2 separate regions of the Homo sapiens genome follow, and region 2 is linked to region 1. Evidence: promoter capture Hi-C in 16 types of primary human blood cells and fetal thymus (Javierre and others, 2016). All regions are on one chromosome and are shown on one strand. Each heading gives the region's core, a stretch centred on a gene start or on the middle of the fragment in contact. The rest is flanking DNA. Distances are from core to core; before and after follow the strand shown.

The links. The method cuts DNA at HindIII sites, captures the fragments that hold promoters and counts their contacts. A CHiCAGO score of 5 or more calls a contact.
Region 2: a contact is called between a fragment that was not itself captured here and the fragment with the promoter of SLC52A3 in region 1, in 2 of 17 cell types (M2 macrophages and megakaryocytes). The highest score is 7.2, in M2 macrophages.

Annotation. Positions count from the first base shown.
Region 1 is chr20:764,541-771,450 of GRCh38, reverse strand. SLC52A3 (solute carrier family 52 member 3) reads left to right here and starts at 2,951. Exons shown (of 5, transcript NM_033409.4): 1 at 2,951-3,154; 2 at 5,626-6,243. The coding sequence starts at 5,677. RefSeq lists an enhancer at 2,277-2,776. The HindIII fragment of the contact is 2,026 bases long and covers 2,532-4,557 here.
Region 2 is chr20:554,339-561,279 of GRCh38, reverse strand. No RefSeq gene overlaps it. Among named protein-coding and RNA genes, the nearest start is that of CSNK2A1, 14 kb to the right of the region's middle. The HindIII fragment of the contact is 1,723 bases long and covers 3,907-5,629 here.

The DNA of each region.
Region 1 (6,910 bases), core at 1,702-4,201:
CTGTTTGTTTCTTTTAGTTTTTTGAGACAAGAGTCTTGCTTTGTCGCCGAGGCTAGAGTGCACTGGCGTGCTCTTGGCTCACTACAACCTCCACATCCCGAGTTCAAGCAATTCTCCTGCTTCAGCCTCCCGAGTAGCTAGAATTACAGGTGCCCACCACCATACCTGGCTAATTTTTTGTGTTTTTGGTAAAGACAGGGTTTTACCATGTTGACCAGTTGGAGGCTGGTCTTGAACTCCTGACCTCAAGTGATCTGCCAACATCAGCCTCCCAAAGTGCTGGAATTATACGAGTGAGCCACTGCACCCAGCCTCTGAGTACTTTTGTTGTACATAAAATAAGAGTGACTTAAACAACATAGAAGTTTCTTTTACAATTTAACAACAACATTAAACAAACAAACAAAACAGTTCAACACAGGCAAAACAGGGCTGGTATGGGTGCTCTCTGCCACAAAATCCCAAAGGAGCCTAGTATGCATCTAACCCCCACCACATGCCTCATAGCACAAAATCGTTGCTGGAGTTCTGGCCATCACATCTGATTCCAGACAGCCAAATGGAGGAAGAGCAGAAGGGCACACTCCCTTATTGTTAACTCTTTCCCTGTTTGCCAGAAGGAATACCCACTTGTGACTGCAGTGTTTACCCCAAGATAACTTTGCCACAAAATACCTCGCTTTTATTATTATTTTTGCCTTGCTCTAGTATATTGACTTTGGAAACAAAAGACATCACTCTATTTGTAGCATTCTGGTTTTAGTCGTGGTATTTCCATTTACAAAACAAAGTAATTCTCGATCGCTGAAAATAGCAAATCCTAGCATTCCTATGTGTGATGTTAACATTGTTCTTGAACAGTTGTTGACCAAAGATTCGTTTGATGAATCCAGTTTTTCTGAAATAGATGAGTCTGATGTTAGTTCTGGTTAGAAATAACTTCAAAAACAGTTTTTACATGTTATTTTCACATTGAAAATCAGTCAGATTTAGGGCTGGGCTTGGTGGCTCACGCCTGCAATCCCAGCACTCTGGGAGGCTGAGGCGTGGGGATCACTTGAACCCAGGAGTTCGAGACCAGCCTGGCAACATGGAGAAACCCCGTCTCTACTAAGAAATATAAAAAATTAGCCGGACATTGTGGTGCACGCCTGTAATCCCAGCTACTAAGGAGACTGAGGCACGAGAACTGCTTGAACTCGGGAGGCGGAGGTTGCTGTGAGCCGAGATCAAGCCACTGTAGTCCAGCCTGGGCTACACAGTAAGACTCTGTCTCAAAAGAAAAAAAAAAAAAACAGCAGTCAGAATCAGATTTGCTTCAGCCTCAAATAGCACGTTTACATAAAATTAAATGAGTGCTGGCAACGAGCTGCACTTTTTTTTCTAAACAGGAAACGGGCTAAGGAGACTACTCAAAGTCGCATTTGAATTCATTGGCCTGTGCTTGATGACATGGCCATGTGCAGCTACAAAGAAGGCTGGGAAATGTAGTCCTTTAGTTGAGTGGCCATTTGTCTAACAAAAACTGCGCCTTTTTTTTATTTTTTCTTTTTTAAGATGGAGTCTCGCTCTGTTGCCCAGGCTGGAGTGCAGTGGCATGATCTCGGCTCACTGCAACCTCCACCTCCCAGGTTGGAGCCGTTCTCCGGCCTCAGCCTCCTGAGTAGCTGGGATTACAGGTGTGCGCCACCATGCTGGGCTAATTTTTGTATTTTTAGTAGAGACGGGGTTTTGCCATGTTGGCCAGGCCAGTCTCGGACTCATGACCTCAAGGGATCCGCCCGCCTCATCCTCCCAAAGTGCTAGGATTACAGACGTGAGCCACCGCGCCTGGCCAATAACTACATGTTTTTGAATGCAACTGATACGTTTGCTGAAATAGTAATCTTATAATGATGGTTCATTGAGCCCTCACTATGTGGCAGGCACAGTTTTAGCACTTTAGTGCATGTTCCTAGCAACAGTTCTGATGTTGGTACTGACAGCCTATAGCTGTTTTGCAAGAGAAGACTCTGAAGCACAGGAGGTTAGGTCACTTGCTCAGCTTGTAAGGGTTGAAGCTGGGATTTGAACCCAGGCAACTGGTTCCAGATGTTACCGCAGGGGAGAGCTCCAAGATGGCCCGAGTCTAGAACAGAGAAAGAGGCCAAAGTGGGGGGCCACTTCTTCCAAAATATTCCTGAGAAGCCAGAAATGCTGAAGGTTGCTTGCCATCCCCTCCACTGCTGATTACAGTAACAAATTGTTAAACACACTGGGCAAACCAAAGTAATATATCTGCTGTCTGGCAGTGGCCAGTGAGTTAACAATTTACAAATCCTAAGCTAAGTCATTGAGAAAGGCCCTTCCACCTTCAAAATGTCAGATTCCCAAGCAGCCCCTGCCCTCAAAAAGCTTCAGTCTCAAGGTATGTGCCTGCATGCACCCACACAAGAACAACCTGAAATGAAGGGGTCATGGGCCCTGGTGAGGACGCCTGAGAAGGTGAGGCAGCCAGAGGTCTCCTGGAGGACGGAGTCTTGTAGAAAGCTTGGATGTGGACAGCAGAGGGGGCTGGTGCTCCAGGCTGGGAGGACAGCACAGGCAAAGGTGTGCCACTGCTGTCTGGGAGCTTCCCCTCCCTCCTTGGGTCCTCTTGGCACGCCTGGAGTGGGCCTCACCTGTGCTATTAGTCAAGTCAGCTTCCTAAGGGAGGGAATGGAGTCTGAGGCCCCCAGAAGGGAGGGGGCAGAGCGGGACTGCTAGGGGATCTGACTGCGTTACACCCCAGGAGTGGCTCCTCCCAGAGAGGAAAAGGAGGTGACCAGAAAGGCCACTGAGCATTGGGTTCGCTCAGTGAAGGTATGAGGAAGGAAGTCCCAGCCCTGTGAGGGAATTCCGTGTGTGGGAACCGTGGGGAGGAGCTGCCAGGATTCAGGAGTTTCCTGGGTGAGGCGTGGCCACAACGGACACTCCTGCTTTGTACTAGAAGGAAGAAGTATGGAGTTAAAGACTGCAGCGTGAACTGAGGAGTCCCGGACAGGCCGCTTGCTGCAGAGGATCCAGTCCAGATCCCAGGAGAGCCCCTCTGCCCCTTCGGACCTCGTCTCCCATCTACAAAACGTGAAGATTGGCCCAGTTAGCGTGTCTCTACAAAAAGGTGCATATACCACTGGTGAGTTCACTTGATACCTAGTAGGGGAATCTTTTCCTTTTTTAAATTTTCATAGTCATGTATTAATTCTCATGTGAATTAGACAAAAATAACGATGTCACCAAACCTGCCATTTCACGATAATGATCAGTAACCCTTAGAGGTGCTTACCCTATGCTGGGACTGTTGGAAACAGCATAAACTCACCAGCATCCTTATATCTCACAACAAACCACGGAGTTCATACTATCACTATCCCCTACTTACAGATGAGGAGATGAGGCAGAGAGAGGCAAAGCCACTTGCCCAGGGTCACCCAGATTGTAAGCAGCAGAGCCAGGGTCAAACTCAAACAGCTGGCTCCAGAGCCTCACTCCTGGCATCTCCCATATTACTGCTCAGACTAAGGATAGATAGAAGAAAGTTGTTAGTAACAGCACAGGTGGGCTGCCACTGGTAGCTGACAAAGGGGTAAACAGATGGCAGAATGGCTCTGGAGGGCTAGAGGAAGTGGTCTCCAAAGGCCACGTAGAGAGTGATATAATTTCAGGAGGAAAAAAAGCCAGATTGAAATCTTATTTCAGGTAACCATATATTTGCATCAGGTAATATGTTTACATGGTTCACAAATCAAAACTCTTATTAAAAGATATACAGAGGCAGGGCCAGGAGCGGTGGCTCATGCCTGTAATCCCAGCACTTTGGGAGGCTGAGGAGGGTGGATCACAAGATCAGGAGATTGAGACCATCCTGGCTAACACGGAGAAACCCCATCTCTAATAAAAATACAAAAAATTAGCTGGGCGTAGTGGTGGGCGCCTGTAGTCCCAGCTACTTGGGAGGCTGAGGCAGGAGAATCACTTGAACCCGGGAGGTAGAGGTTGCAGTGAGCTGAGATTGTGCCACTTCACTCCAGCCTGGTGACAGAGTAAGACTCTGTCACAAGAAAAAAAAAAAAGATATACAGAGGCATCACCAACATCCCTGCAGTCCCTGTGTGTCCTTCAAGGGTTGCTTTGTGCAAGTACAAGCAAAGAAAACATGTTTTTCCTCCTCTTCTATGACCAAAAGGCAGTACACTTTTTCCTGGTTCCATTTACCTGCCTTGATTTTGTTTCAAGATTATTATTATAGCCTGGAGACCTTTCCTTATCAGTCACCAAGATCTGCTTTCCTTATTTCTTATTCCTTTAAACAGGTATGTGGTATTCCAGCAGGTCCCTTTAATTAGCCCCCTCTCTGTTGGTAGCCACCCAGGAGAAAATTTCCCATAACTTGCTATTACCAACAAGATCGCAATCTATAATAACCTTGAACATGAGTCATTTTGTCAGGCTTTGGGACAATCTCATGGTGAGAAATGGCACCTGGAGTAGTTTTCCTATTGTGAATGAAGGTGATAATATTTTCATGTGTTTAAAGCTTATTTGTACCTTTTTCTCTGAATTGTTCATATCCTTGGCCCTCTTCTATATGGGGTCTCTTTGTTCTTGATTTTTAAAAACTCTTTATATATTAGGAATGTCACGCGCGTCCATGTGAAGAGACCATCAAACAGGCTTTGTGTGAGCAACAAGGCTGTTTATTTCACCTGGGTGCAGGCGGGCTGAGTCCGAAAAGAGAGTCAGCGAAGGGAGATAGGGGTGGGGCAGTTTTATAGGATTTGGGTAGGTAGTGGAAAATTACAGTCAAAGGGGGTTGTTCCCTGGCGGGCAGGGGTGGGGGTCACAAGGTGCTCAGTAGGGGAGCTTCTGAGCCAGGAGAAGGAATTTCACAAGGTAATATCATCAGTTAAGGCAGGAACCGGCCATTTTCACTTCTTTTGTGATTCTTCAGTTACTTCAGGCCATCTGGATGTACACGCGCAGGCTTGGGCTCAGAGGCCTGACAAGGAAGATGAGCCCTTTGTCTGTGATTTATGTGGCAAATGTTTTCCCCGTGTTTTCATTTAACTTTTGACCTTGCTGTTGGTATCTTTTGCAGAAGCTGCTTTGTTTGCTTTTGTGTGTCGGATTGAACTTTTCTTTCATGAATCACGGTTAGGAAAGGCTTCTCTTGTTTTCTGCTAATAAAAAGACAGCTTGGGCCAGGCGTGGTGGCTCACACTGTAATCCCAGCACTTTGGGAGGCCGAGGCAGGCGGATCACCTGAGGCCAGGAGTTCGAGACCAGCCTGACCAACGTGGGGAAACCCTGTTTCCACTAAAAATACAAAATTAGCTGGCATGGTGGCATGCACCTGTAATCCCAGCTATTTGGGAAACTGAGGCAGGAGAATCACTTGAGCCCAGGAGGCAGAGGGTCACTGAGCCGAGATCATCCCATTGCACTCCAGCCTGGACTAAAAGAGTGAAACTATGTCTCAAAGGAAAAAAAAAAAAGCCAGCTTGTTCACAGGAAGGGGAGTAATAAGAGAAAACTCTGGGCCCCAGGTCCCAGCATCTTGCTAGGTGGTGAAGCTGGAATTACTCACCTGGTGTCCTTCTCTGCCAGCCCCGCTGCAGGCTGATCTGAGAAAGCCTCTGGCCCAGGGCAGATACCGCCATGGCCTTCCTGATGCACCTGCTGGTCTGCGTCTTCGGAATGGGCTCCTGGGTGACCATCAATGGGCTCTGGGTAGAGCTGCCCCTGCTGGTGATGGAGCTGCCCGAGGGCTGGTACCTGCCCTCCTACCTCACGGTGGTCATCCAGCTGGCCAACATCGGGCCCCTCCTGGTCACCCTGCTCCATCACTTCCGGCCCAGCTGCCTTTCCGAAGTGCCCATCATCTTCACCCTGCTGGGCGTGGGAACCGTCACCTGCATCATCTTTGCCTTCCTCTGGAATATGACCTCCTGGGTGCTGGACGGCCACCACAGCATCGCCTTCTTGGTCCTCACCTTCTTCCTGGCCCTGGTGGACTGCACCTCTTCAGTGACCTTCCTGCCGTTCATGAGCCGGCTGCCCACCTACTACCTCACCACCTTCTTTGTGGGTGAAGGACTCAGCGGCCTCTTGCCCGCCCTGGTGGCTCTTGCCCAGGGCTCCGGTCTCACTACCTGCGTCAATGTCACTGAGATATCAGACAGCGTACCAAGCCCTGTACCCACGAGGGAGACTGACATCGCACAGGTACCCAGCATCACCCGGAGCCATCTCAGCACTTGGCTTTATCACAAATGTAGGGGAGGGAAAAACTGCTCACCTCCATCCTTCTAGGTTCTTTGGTCGGCCTATGAGTTAAACTGACATAAGGCAGATCAACAGCAGGAAACTCATTTTAATTACTTACATACATACGCATGGGAGTCCCCAAAAAATATGAGACTCAAAAAAGGGCCAGATGATTTCAGCTTCTATAGCATCCTGAGCTACAAAAGGGAATAGGGGCTTGAGGCTACTGCAGGATGGTGGAGACAAATTATGGGAGAGTGAAGGGAGGAAACTTATGGTGAATAAACATTGCACTGTTATGCAGATAAAAGTTCCTCGGGTGATAAAGGCCATCACCTTTCTCTTCCTGGTTCAGATACCCCTTCGTGGTACAGATACCTTTTCTTGGTACAGATAAGATAGCTTTACTAATAAAAATTTCCTTTAGATGTAAATTTATCTTACAAAATGGCAACTTTTCAGAGCTACTCCTTAGCCTGCAATTTTTCAAAATAACCAGCTAGAAATAAAAAATATGCCAATAGGTCAATTTTGGGGTGGCATATTCTGGCCTCCTACAGTCATATTTTGGGATGGCATGTCCTGAAGGCCCTTATTTCCTAGACGATGGGTGGAGCAGTGTTCT
Region 2 (6,941 bases), core at 3,519-6,018, 210 kb after region 1:
AGATGTTTGTTCTGCTCGCTGTTGAATTCTCAGCACAGACAGTAGGTGTTCAATATATATTTACTGAGTTAATGAATATACTCATTATATTCATTATGAATATAAAGTATGGCAGGTATTATCAATCACCCTTTTTCCCATCAATGGGGAAACTGAAGCTCAATAAATTGATGTGACTCATTCAAGTCCACATAATGAGGGAGTGCTGGGATCTGGATTTGAAGCAGGATTTCTGGAAGCTGAAATGTGGGAGCTGTGTCCACAGTGGCACCTTGAGTTTCCTAAGCCTGGGGAGACTTTTTAATCAGACATCACCCAAGATCAGTAAGTCAGCAGTTGTGGGTTCTGCAGGAGAGGGAGCAAAGATCCAGTGCAGAGATCCTCAAGGGGGCAATGTCACCAAGAGTGTTGGAGAGTTCCCAGTGACCAGGGGGTGCCCCGGCCATGCAGGAGGGGAGCAAGGGTGCAGACATCCTGCAGTGCATCTCAAGTCATGATTTTCAAATCTCCCTTTGGTAATTAGTGTAGGTAAAAACCTTGTTTTTAATTATCTGAGCCAAGGACCGAATTCTATTTTACATATAAACACAATGTGTGGGGGTTTTCATTTTGTTTTTTATGTTTAATAGACTACTTTTTTAGAGAAGTTTTAGACTTAGAGCAAAACTGTGCAGAGACTGGGCACACTGGCTCACGCCTGTAATCCCAGTGCTTTGGGAGGCCGAGATGGGGAGATTGCTTGAGGCCAAGAGTTTGAGACCAGCCTGAGCAAGATAGCAAGAACCTGTCTCCACAATTTTTTTTTTTAATTTCCCTAGCATGGTGGCACATGTGTGTGGTCCTAGCTACTTGGGAGGCTGAGGCTAAAGGATTGCTTGAACCTAGGAGTTTGAGGCTGCAGTGGACTCTAATCGTGCCACTGTACTTTAGCCTGGGGGACAGAGCAAGACCCTCTCTCAGAAAAGAAAAAGAAAAATGACACAGAAATCATAGACAGTTCCCTTGTACTCCTTCTCCAAACATGCAGTTTCTCCTGTTATTAACATTTTGCATTAGTGCAAATGCATGGTGCATCTGTTACAATTGATAAACCAATTTTGACACACAATTATTAACTGAAATCCACAGTTACCTTACAGTTCACTCTTTGTGTTGCACAGTTCTACCATGCTGGGGATTTTTTGTTTTTTTTTGTTTTTTTGTTTGCTTGTTTTTTGTTTTTGAGACAGAGTCTCGCTCTGTCACCCAGGCTGGAGTGCAGTGGCACGATCTCGGCTCACTGCACCCTCCACCTCCCGGGTTCAAGAAATTCTCCTGCCTCAGCCTCCCGAGTAGCTGGGACTACAGGCACATGCCGCCACGCGCAGCTAATTTTCTGTGTTTTTTAGTAGAGACGGGGTTTCTGGATTTGAAGCAGGATTTCTGTAGCGCCAGGCTGGTTGCAAACTCCTGAGCTCAGGCAATCCGCCCGCCTCGGCCTCCCAAAGTGCTGGGATTACAGGCGTGAGCCACCGCGCCCGGCCCATGCTGGGTTTTGACAAGTACATACATCCTTTATCTACCATTACAGCATCATACAGAAGAGGTCCCCTGCCCTAAAAATGCCCTGTGCTCCACCTGTGCATCCCTCTCTCCCCTCCCCTGAGCCCTGGCAACCACTGATCTTTTCATTGTCTCTATAGTTTTGCCTTTTCCAGTACAATGTGTGTTTGCTTGGTTTTAATAACAGCGACTCTGCCAGGAAAGCAACCTTCACATAAATTGGTGTCTTAGTCAGTTCAGGCCACTGTAACAAATTACACAGACTGGTGGCTTATAAGCAACAGAAATTTATTTCTTACAGATCCGAAGCCTGGCAAGTCCAACATCCAGGAGCTGGCAGATTCCATGTCTGGTGAAGACCGCTTCCTGGTTCATAGATGGCTTCTCACCGTGTCCTCACATGGTAGAAGGGGCAGCAGAGCTCTCTGGGGCCTCTTTTATAAGGGCACTAATCCCACTCATGAGGGCTCTGCACTCATAACCTAATCACCTCCAAAAGGCCCCATCTCCTAATACCATCACGCTGGGGATTAGGCTTTGACGTAAGATTTTGGGGGAGACAAACATTTAGTCTGTAGCGATTGGGAACAGAATGGATTGTGTTTGGTTCAGAACTTTACCTAGACTGCTCACATTTCAGACTATCACAGCCATGCAGTCACAGTGCATGTGCCGCCAGTGCGGCGTTACCAATTCAGCCTGCAGATTCTCAATGATTCCACCCAGAGCAGAGCCCACCCAACTACTTTGTGATGGTTTCTACACATTGTCCTGGAACATTTACATATTAATTTATTCTAAATTATTTTCACTTTATTTTCTTTTAAATTACAACTAGGACATTATTTATGTTTAAAACTATGCATGGCCGGGCGCGGTGGCTCACTCCTGTAATCCCAGCACTTTGGGAGGCCAAGGCGGAAGGATCACGAGGTCAAGAGATCGAGACCATCCTGGCCAACATGGTGAAACCCTGTCTCTACTAAAAATACAAAAATTAGCTGGGCATGGTGGCATGCGCCTGTAATCTTACCTATTCGGGAGGCTGAGGCAGGATAATCACTTGAACCCAGGAGGCGGAGGTTGCAGTGAGCCGAGATTGTGCCGCTGCACTCCAGCCTGGATGACAGAGTGAGACTCGGTCTCAAAAAAAAAAAATTATGTGCGTCAGCAGGTTATGTTATTCATGTATTTTATTTTAGAAAAGAAGCATTATAACTACTATTAAAGGGAGCCTTGGGCCTGTAGGGTTTCAAGCCACAGTCCAATGGCATGATAATCACAGCAACAGCAAACAATGATGGGTGCCAGCCACTCCAAAGGCTTGTAAATGACTCACATACACAAATCATTACATCTGTACAGTTCCCCTACCTTGTAACAGTGCTACAAGGGTATGCACTGTTAGCCCCATTTTGCAGAGGAGAAAACCAAGGTTCAGACAGAATAAGGCCCCTTGGTGGCGCTGGAAATAGAATCCAAGCAGCCCATACCCCTAACCACTGAACTAACCGATCCTGGATTCCCTGGGCTTGAAACACAGTGTTGGGTGAGTTGAGCATCCCCAGGACTGACGAGCCCAGGAAAGGTATGGGAGGCAAATGATGAAGCAGAAAGGTCAACAGCCCAGGCTCTAGCCTGGGTGCTAGTCTTGGCTGTGTCTTTACTCCTGTATGACCCTAAAGAGCCACTTCCCTTCACTGAGGCTCAGTTGTCTCATCTGTTTTCTTTTGGGTTTTTTTGTTGTGGTGGTGGTGGTGGTTTTGTTTTTGTTTTTGTTTTTTGAGACAAAGTCTCAATCTGTCTCCCAGGCTGGAGTATAGTGGTGGATCTCAGCTCACTGTAACCTCCACCTCCTGGGCTCAAGTGATCCTCCTACCTCAGTCTCCCAAGTAGCTGGGACTACAGGCGCATGCCACCACACACAGCTAATCTTTGTATTTTCTGTAGATTCAGAGTTTTGCCATGTTGCCCAGGCTGGTCTCAAATGTGTGGGCTCAAGCGATCTGCCTGCCTCAGCCTCCCACAGTGCTGGGATTACAGGCATGAGCTACTGTACCTGGCCTAGTTGTCTCATCTGTAAGAAGGGGGTGATGTCGCCTAAGTGGGTACTGTCCCTCTTCATGTTACAAGTGTGAGAACTATGACTCAGAGAGAAGAGACCTGCAGGGTTACGTGAGGATGGTGGGATGATCCTCTAAGGACATGCTCCACCTGCCCAGCAAGGTACCCATGGCTCCTTCAAAGCCCAATCTGAGACTCACGCATCACCAGACAAAAGTCAGAGGTCACCTGTCCTGGCCACTCGTCCCCCAATGCAACCACCCACAAGTGACCCCCACAGTGCAGAAGTATCTAAAAGCTTCCATTGGGCTGGGAGAGCTGGAGCGCTATCCTTGGAAGCACTGGGCCTCAGTTTCCCTGTGGTGAACTCCAGCTCCAAAATATGTCCCAAGTCAATCCACCTCTCTTTATCTGCACTGCTTCCATCTTAGCCCATGCCACATCACCTCTCTCCTGGCCCACCCACTGCCTCCCCTGCCCCCACACCTCCACTCCTCTCCTGCTTCCTCTCCTCCCACACCTCCACTCCTACCCCTGCCTCCTGTCCTCCCTGCTCCTGGCCCAGCAGCCAAAGAGGTCTTTTATAAATAAAAAAAATTTTTTTTGTTGTTGTTGAGACAGGATCTCACTTTGTCATTGAGGCTAGAGCACAGTGGGGTGATCTCGGCTCACTGCAGCCTCAACTCCTTGGGTTCATGCAATCCTCCTGCCTCAGCCCCCAAGTAGCTGGGAATACAGGTGCATGATGCCACGCCCTGCTAATTTTTGTATTTTATATATATATATATATATTTTTTTTTTTTTGAGACGGAGTCTCGCTCTGTCACCCAGGCTGGAGTGCAGTGGCATGATCTCAGCTCACTTCAAGTTCCATCTCCCAGTTCACACCATTCTCCTGCCTCAGCCTCCCGAGTAGCTGGGACTACAGGCGCCTGCCACCACGCCCGGCTAATTTTTCTGTATTTTTAGTAGAGATGGGGTTTCACCATCTAGCCAGGGGTTTCACTACTAGCCAGGATGGTCTCCATCTCCTGACCTCATAATCTGCCCTCCTCAGCCTCCCAAAGTGCTGGGATTACAGGCATGAGCCACCACGCCCAGCCTAATTTTTGTATATTTTTTTACAGATGGGGTTTCCCCATGTTGAACTCCTGAGCTCAAGCAATCCGCCCATCTCAGCCTTCCAAAGTGCTGGGACTACAGGCGTGAGCCACCGCACCTGGCTGATAAATGTAAAACCTTACGAAATCATTCCCCTGCTTAAACCCTATTGTTCTTAAATCAGATTCCTCTACAGGGTGTAGTGGATCCTGCCAACCTCTCCCATCTCATTTCCCACTATGTTCCCTCCCACCCTCCACCCTCTCCATATACGTCTGGACCACATTGGCCTCCTTGATATGCCATTAACAGGCATGTTCCTATCTTAGGACCTTTGCCCATGCTGTTTCTCCTCTTCAGTCAGCCCCATGGGCCACCCCTCCTGACCTTCCTTGGGTAAACTCTTCTTCCCGCCCTCCACTAGGTCGGCTTTACTCTCATGCACTCTCATACCCCGCCCACTTGTCTCTCCTGGCGATAATCCCAGTTTGCAATGCTAGATTTGTCTGCTTATCTTCTCCCCACTTGACTGAGCTCCACCAGGCCAGGAATACTGACTTGTTTCCCGCTGTGTACTGAGAACCTGAGAAAGTGTCTGCCCCAGAGTATGTGCTGAGAATGACCTGCTGAAAGCCAGACTGCAGGCATGAACCAATGGCCACCCAAAGGAGACTGATGGTACATCTCCTTCATCGTGCACACTAAGACATCAAAGACAGCTTGAAGGCAAGGAAGAAGCTAGGTTTTTATGTTGTTGTTGTTTTATTTTATTTTATTTAGTATTCTTCGGAGGCATAGAATGAAAGGCAGAGAGAACCCCAGGTACAATTTAATTCACTTGTTAGCAGAGGCTACATGTGCCAAATGCTATGCTACACCCTGGGGACAGCCTGTGTATACTGGGTTGGTGAGAGAATAAGCTTTGAGCCACACTGCCTGGATGCAGAGACCAACTCATTATTCACTAGCTGTGCAAGCTTGGGTAAGTCACTAAACCTCTCTGAACCTTGGTGTTTCCTTGTCCTCACTTCCTTCTTTGTGGATTACAGCCATGATATAACTTTATCCCCACTGTGCTGCATACTCCCAAGATCCCCCTGACCCTCTCTGACTAAACACCTGTTAGTTGGTGCCAACTCCACATCCCTCTGTGTTTGTCCCCCTGCAGTGGAATGTGGCTGGAGAAAAACACACCACCATGTAGACTGGCCTCACTTTACTTGAATGATGATAGCTTCAGTGGTGTCTTTTGTTCTGCCTGACAATCACAGTAGATCCATTCATTTTCCCTACACACTTCCTTCCTATCTTTTCAAACCTCCATCACCTTCTCCCCCATTCTCACTCTTAGCCAAGGACCTTGCTTCCTATTTCACAGGGAAAATGGTAGCAATCAGAAAGCATTTCCACACATTTCCACTGCACAGCTACCTACCTACCAATCTGGTACCCAAATACTCTGCCCTCCCTTCTGTGACCATGGATGAGCCATCTGTGCTCCAAGGTCAAAGCCCCCATTTGTATACTAGATCCCATCCTTCTCTCCAGAGACACCATTCTAGCCACTCTCTTCTCTCTCTCTGTCTGCATTATTACTTTTTTTTCCAATCTACTGAATCTCTCTCATCAGCATAAAAACATGCTACAATTTCTGCCTTTGAACAACTTATCTTGACCCCATTTTGCTCTCCACCTGCCACCTGTCCTCAGTTCTATAGCAAAACTCCTCAAAAAGTTACCTGGACTCACTGCCTCCATGTCTCTACTTCCTTTCCTTCTATTCTCTCTTGTTAGAATTTATTTTGACATAATGTCACTTACAGAAAAGTTACAAAGTAGTACAAAGAACACTCAAATCTCACCAGCCACAATGGCTAACACCTAAAATCTCAGCATTTTGGAAGGCTGAGATGGGAGGATTGCTTGAGCCTAGAATTTGAGACCAGCCTGGGCAACACAGGGAGACCCCATCTCTAAAAAATATTTAAAAATGAGTCAGGTGTGGTGGTGCGCAACTGTGGTCCCAGCTACTCAGGAGGTTGAGGTGGGAGCATTGCTTGAGCCTGGGAGGTTGAGGCTGCAGTGAGCTATGATCACACCACTGCACTCCAGCCTGGGTAACAGAGTGAGACCCTGTCTCAAAAACAAAAACAGAATAGCCAAATACCCATTACCCAGATTTTACCATCTTTGCTTTATCATTTATTTTTCTTTCCTCCAACCCTGAACTCTTT